2 separate regions of the Homo sapiens genome follow, and region 2 is linked to region 1. Evidence: promoter capture Hi-C in 16 types of primary human blood cells and fetal thymus (Javierre and others, 2016). All regions are on one chromosome and are shown on one strand. The core of a region is centred on a gene start or on the middle of the fragment in contact, and the rest is flanking DNA. Distances in the headings are between cores, read along the strand shown. Region 1 holds the start of BRD1 (bromodomain containing 1). Region 2 holds the start of LOC124905149 (a long non-coding RNA gene).

The links. Contacts are between HindIII fragments. The CHiCAGO score rates a contact against its expected background, and 5 or more counts as called.
Region 2: a fragment that was not itself captured here is called in contact with the fragment with the promoter of BRD1 in region 1 in 1 of 17 cell types (monocytes); the score reaches 5.1 in monocytes.

What each region holds. Positions count from the first base shown.
Region 1 is chr22:49,826,458-49,829,485 of GRCh38, reverse strand. BRD1 (bromodomain containing 1) reads left to right here and starts at 1,613. Exons shown (of 13, transcript NM_001304808.3): 1 at 1,613-1,989. RefSeq lists silencers at 1,479-1,548, 2,279-2,448 and an enhancer at 2,949-3,028. The HindIII fragment of the contact is 34,147 bases long and covers 1-3,028 here.
Region 2 is chr22:50,628,972-50,631,836 of GRCh38, reverse strand. LOC124905149 (a long non-coding RNA gene) reads right to left here and starts at 343. Exons shown (of 2, transcript XR_007068161.1): 1 at 1-343. The HindIII fragment of the contact is 597 bases long and covers 1,025-1,621 here.

The sequences.
Region 1 (3,028 bases), core at 364-2,863:
TGGGTCTGGTGCAGAAGAGGTCAGGGCCCCAGTGGCCTGTACCCCCTAAGCTCAAGGGTGTGTCTGCAGGGAGTCCTAGATCAGGACTGACCACTGGGGCCTTGGCTGGGGTCCTACCTGCCCTTGAGTCGTCACGTCACAACCCACACACTGGGTGCCATGGGCATGAGGACTGGCCAGGAAAAGGCCTGTGGGGCCTGGCCCCTATCAGGGACACTTGGGCGAACAAGGCCACCCCACTCCCAATAAGGTGTTTGGTGCAGTGCCCCGAGCAGTGGGGCCGCTCGGCTGCCCCCGTGGGGACGGTCTGTCCCAGGGTGGACAGCTGCTCTTCCTGAGGGGCCTGCCTGGATGCCACAGGCTGTGCTGCTGGAACCCAGGGATTCCACAGCACCATCGTCCTGATCACAAATTCTCAAGGAAACCAAGGAGCTCCTGCCTCACCTTAAAACATTTGGGATTTAATCTTGGAGTGAAAATTGTTATGACCCCACTGAATTTTAGAGTTTACACAAAAGGCCAAAGTGAAGGCAGAGACTCAGGCCTCTCAACTCCCACCCGCAGGGGCCTTTTCTTGCAACCTTAAAGGGCATCTGCTTCACGCCGGCCTCGGCAGGGCCCTCACACTGGCAGGACTACTTGCACACCGGGCCTGACACTCACTAGGGGAGGCTCCCCAGCCCGGCTGCACCACCCACCTCTACCTAGTCGCGTGTCCCGGCCAGTGCCCTTTCCACTCCCACCCAGTGCCCCCGCAGGGCCCCCTCTGTCCTCTTAGGGACCTCCACTCCCGGACCAATAGCCTCCTGCCTCAGGGCCCCCCACTCATGGGCCAATCGCCCCCTGCCTCAGGCCTCCCCCCACTCGTGGGCCAATCGCCCCCTGCCTCAGGCCCCCACCAACTCGTGGGCCAATCGCCCCCTGCCTCAGGGCCCCCCATTCCTGGGCCAATGGCCTTCTGCCTCAGGGACTCCCACTCTCAGCTGGTCCCCCCCGCCTCAGGGACCCCCACTCCTGGCCGTTCCCCCGTCAGGGCCCCCGACTGGCGGCTGCTCCCCCATCCTGCCTCGGGGCCCCCCACTCCCGGGCCAATGTCCTTCTGCCTCAGGTACCCCCACTCCCGGCCCGTCCCCCCGCCTGTGGGCCCCCCACTCCAGGCCGGTGGTAGCCCCTGCCTCAGAGCCGCCCACTCCTGGGCCATCTCCTGCCTCAGCGACCCCACTCCTGGGCCAATGCCCTTCTGCCTCAGGGACCCCCACTCCCAGCCGGTACCCCCCTGCTTCAAAGCCCCCGACTCCCGGCTGCTCCCCACCTGCCTCGGGGCCCCCCACTCCTAGGCCTACGTCCCCCTGCCTCAGGGCCCCTCATTCTCCATCCTCCTGACCCCCTCAGGGACCTTCTGGCCCGGTCCTCCCTAACTCAAGGGCCCCCACTCTCCATCCTCCCGACCCCCCACTCCCAGCCCGGTCCCCGCCGCCTCAGGGCCCCCTTTGGCCCCCGCTCCTCGCGGCGCCCCCTCCCCCGCGCGCGGCCGAGGCAGCGGAGTCCGCGCGTCATGGCGGCGGCGGGCGGGGCGCGTCTCGCACGCAGCGCGCCGGGCGGAGCGCTCGCCGCATTGTTTGCTTCGCTGGGGAGCGAGCGAGCGACCCGGCCCTGGAGTCCGAGCCAGCCCCGCGTCCCGCGCCCGCCGCCCGCCGCCCGCTCCCGCGCCCGCGCCCGCGCCCGCCGGCCGGGCCCCCCGAGCCGGGCCTCCAGCTGGGCCCCGAGCCCGAGCCCGCGCCGCGCGAGCCGCTGCCCGAGAGTCCGCGGCCGCCGCTGCCGGGCCCGGAGCCGCCGCGGCCGAGAGGGGCCCGCGCCCAGGAGCGGCGGCGGGGCCCGGCCTGCGCGGCCGTTGGCGGAGGAGCCGCGGGCGCCATTAGCACCGCCTCGGCCGCGCCGGCCCCCGCGCCCGCCCGCTTGCCGGGCTCCCGCGGCCGCGGCGCCCCGAAGGTGAGTGGGCGGGGGCCTGGCCGGGGAGGCCTCCCCGCCGCCTCGCGGGCCGCCCGGCCGCCGCCGCCGCCTCGGCCCGGCCTCTCGGGGTTGTGGTGCCGACGCCATGTTTGGCGGCGGCGGCGGCGGCGGCGGCTCCGCATTGTCTGCGGGCCGGGAGCCCGGGATGCCGGGGAGGCCGGGCGGGGAGACCGGGGAGGTCGGGCCGGGCGGCCGGGGAGACGGGCGGGAAGACGGGGAGGCCGGGCGGGGAGACCGGGTAGGTCAGGCCGGGGAGTCGAGGGAGGCCGAGTCGGGCTGTGGGTCTCGGCGGCCTGGGCCGCGGGCGCCTGCCCGGAGTCCGCGCTCGAGTCGGGTCGGGCCTCGGGCAGCCGCCGAGCCGGCCGGGCCGCCCCTTATGTAACAGACAGGCCCGCCGAGCTCTGCCAAGACGGGAACTCCCTGTGAGCAGGGACGCGCCCCGAGATCGCCCAGGAGCCGCGCGGCCTGCGGCGGCCGGGCTTGGGAACCGGCACCGCGGCCTCCCCGGGCGTTTGCAGGGAGACGCCTCGCGACGAACGCGAGGCTTCCCCGGGCCTTTTAAAACGAGTGACACGATTGAGGCGCAGTTCACGGGAAACGCGGCTCTTGTGAGCGGACGCGGGAGTTCTGAGAATCCGTAGCAGCGGGACCCCCTGCCCCGCGGGGTGCGGCCCCGTCTCCCCAGAAAGCGCGGCCGCCCGTGTCTGTTTTTGAGGGTCTGTCGCCAGGTGGTTGTGTAGTTAGTGGAATCGGCGGATGTTTTTGTTTGGCCGGCCCAGCGCCGTCCCGAGTGCTGTGTGCTGCACACAACTTCGCACAGCTCAGCGGCCGCGGCCCCTGTGGCCTTGACCGAGAGGCCCGGCGCGTGGCCGGCTTCTCCCTGGGCGGGCGGTGGGAAGATGGAAGCGGCCGTCTTGTGGGCAGCCTTCCCCGCCTGTGGCCCGCAGGGCTCTTCGATGTACTTAAGGGAATTATTCCTTGAGAAGCTACGTGTGTGCCCCCGCGGATCCCTCCCAGT
Region 2 (2,865 bases), core at 74-2,573, 800 kb before region 1:
TATCTAAAGCAGGCATCTGGTTCCAGATTTCTTCCCCCAAAAAACGTGTAAGTAACTATAATTTCTATGTGTCTCCAGAATACCATGACGAAACTCACTGTACAACCGTCGCTGACATTAAGGCACCAAAATTACTATAAATGTAATCATTTATCATGACTTACGTGGCTAATATGGTCCAAATTACTGTTAAGCCTCCACTTTAAGGCCTATAAATGCCCTTAAGGAGAAATCCACCCGGCGTACTCAGTCCTCTTGCTGAGGCACCTCATTGCACTCTTCTGCAGCATTCTAATAAACTTTCTTTCTTTTCTTTTTTTTTCTTTTTTTTTTTTTTGAGATGGAGTTTCACTCTTGTTGCCCAGGCTGGAGTGCAATGGTATGATCTCAGCTCACCACAACCTCCATCTCCCAGGTTCAAGCGATTCTCCTGCCTCAGCCTCCCAAGTAGCTGGGAATACAGGCTCCCGACACCATGCCCAGCTAATTTTTTGTATTTTTAGTAGAGATGGGGTTTCATCATGTTGGCCAGGCTGGTCTTGAACTCCTGCCCTCAGGTGATCCACCTGCCTCAGCATCCCAAAGTGCTGGGATTACAGGCGTGAGCCACCGTGCCCGGCAAACTTTCTTTTTTCTTTTTTTTTTTGAGACAGTCTTGCTCTGTCTCAGCTCACTGCAACCTCCGCCTCCCAGGTTCAAGCAATTCTCCTGCCTCAGCCTTCCAAGTAGCTGGGATTACAGCCACGCACCACCACACCTGGCTAAGTTTTATACTTTCAGTAGAGACAGGGTTTCTCCATGTTGGCCAGGCTGGTCTCAAACTCCTGACCTCAGGTGATCCACCCACCTTGGACTTCCAAAGTGCTGAGAGTACAAGCATGAGCCACTATGCCCGGCCAAACTTTCCTTTTTCAAACCTATTGTCGGTAAACTCTTTTTACCAACCCGCAAGTTGACCACCACTCCCAGTGCCGGGGCTCTGACAGCTCGCCTGGCAGGGACTTCTTAAGACAAACTAAAAGCTTGACACATTCAGAACAAAAACGGTGCTGCTTAAAATATTAAATGTCTTGGGTTCCCAACCATTTTCAGACTGACCACAAAATGTGACCTGCGAGTCACTACCTCGGATTGGCAGAGGCCAAGAGAGTGCTCCTGAGGTAGGAGGTGGGACTTAGTTGACCCAGTTGAGGATTGGCTAAAACAGGGTTGGGGCAATAGCAGCTTTCAGTCAGATATGCCCGCCACTGTGCCATGTCAGTTTACCATTGCCATGGCAACACCCAGGAGTTGCCACCCCTTTCCATGGCAATGACCCAATGATGACTACTCCTTCCCTAGAAACTTCTGCATAAACCATCCTTTAATCTACATGCAATCAAAAGTGCGTATAAATGTGACTGCAAAACTGCCCTGAGCTGCTACTCTCAGCCTACGGGGTGGCCCTGCTCTGCAGGAGCAGTCACAGAGCTCTAACGCCACCTGTTCAATAAAGCTGTTTTCTTCTACCTCTGGCTTGTCTTTGAATTCTTTCCTGGGCAAAGCCAAAACCCTCACTGGCTAAGCTCCACTCTGGGGTCTGCCTGGCCTGCATCATTCCCACTCGCTCACAACTCAAGCTTTCAAGGACATCAAAAGAGAGGAGAATCTCATCCAGTTTTCAGTTCAGGGACCCACAGCAAAGTCTGTCTAACTAGACGCATCCGATCAGAGCTGCAAAACTGACTAGCCTGCAGGACGGCCCCAAGACGGGGTTTACAGGGGTTTTAGGCCTGTGTTCTACCCTCTTTATGACAGAAAAACACAGAAAGACAAGAATGAAAGACGACTATTTCTGGGGAAAAAAAGCAATCAAACAATATGAATACAAAACTAATCACATAAATACATTTCTCTCATTAAAACTTTGAAGAGGAAAACAAGGTAAACAGACATTTTTACCGTCGGCTTGACAAGATTCCAGAGAGGCCGGGAGCCTGGCTGCTAAGACCTTCTTACCCTTCTTTCTGCCAGCTTGTCGGCTCCTGGGTTCCCCTGACGGAGGCTCCCAGGAGAGTGACTTTAGTTATCCTACCGACTGCACCAAAACTGTAGGAGCCTAGAGAAAAACTTTTCTGCATTCTGAGTTCACAGAAAATCAACTGACAAAAGCCAGGTTAGTAAGAAAAAAGGCATACAGATTTATTCATGCACACAGGGAGAACCAGAGTGATGACCCCAACCTCCCAATGGGGTTCGGAAGCTTATATACCATCTTGAGGTTACAGAAAGAACATGGGCTCAAAGTATGGCCACAGTTTATGGTGGAAAATCAGGTGACCAGTGGCAAGACCGGTTACAGGAGGGAGAGCAGAGGAGGCCTGGCTAGCAAAGGTGGCCTTGTTCTACAGATGAAACCTCACAGGTAGCAGCCCTGAGAGAGAACAGATGGTGAATGTTCCCTTCAGGCCTTTAAAGGCGTCAGACTGTTACTCTTCCCAGATCAGGCAAGGAGGGCCTCAGAGGAGGCCTGGCCGCATCAGTGTAGATTCTCTCCACAGATGCAAATCTCCCCCACAAAAGACAGCTTTTCAGCTATTCTTCTATTTCCAGTCCTTCTGAGTAACTGTCTTGAACCGTGTCAAGGAAATATATTTGGAGGTGACATATTGTGTTTTCCTTCAAGATCAAAAAGGTTAAGTCCAAGGCTGCCCAACGAGGGAGCGAGGACCCAATCACGTTGTCCTCAGATGAGTTTTTCCCCAGCAGCGTAACCCTGCAACAGGCCAGACTGGACCCCAGACACACATTCCACACCACACCACGCCTCCACCACCACACGCACACAACAGACACACCCTAAACACCAGACACACACACACACCT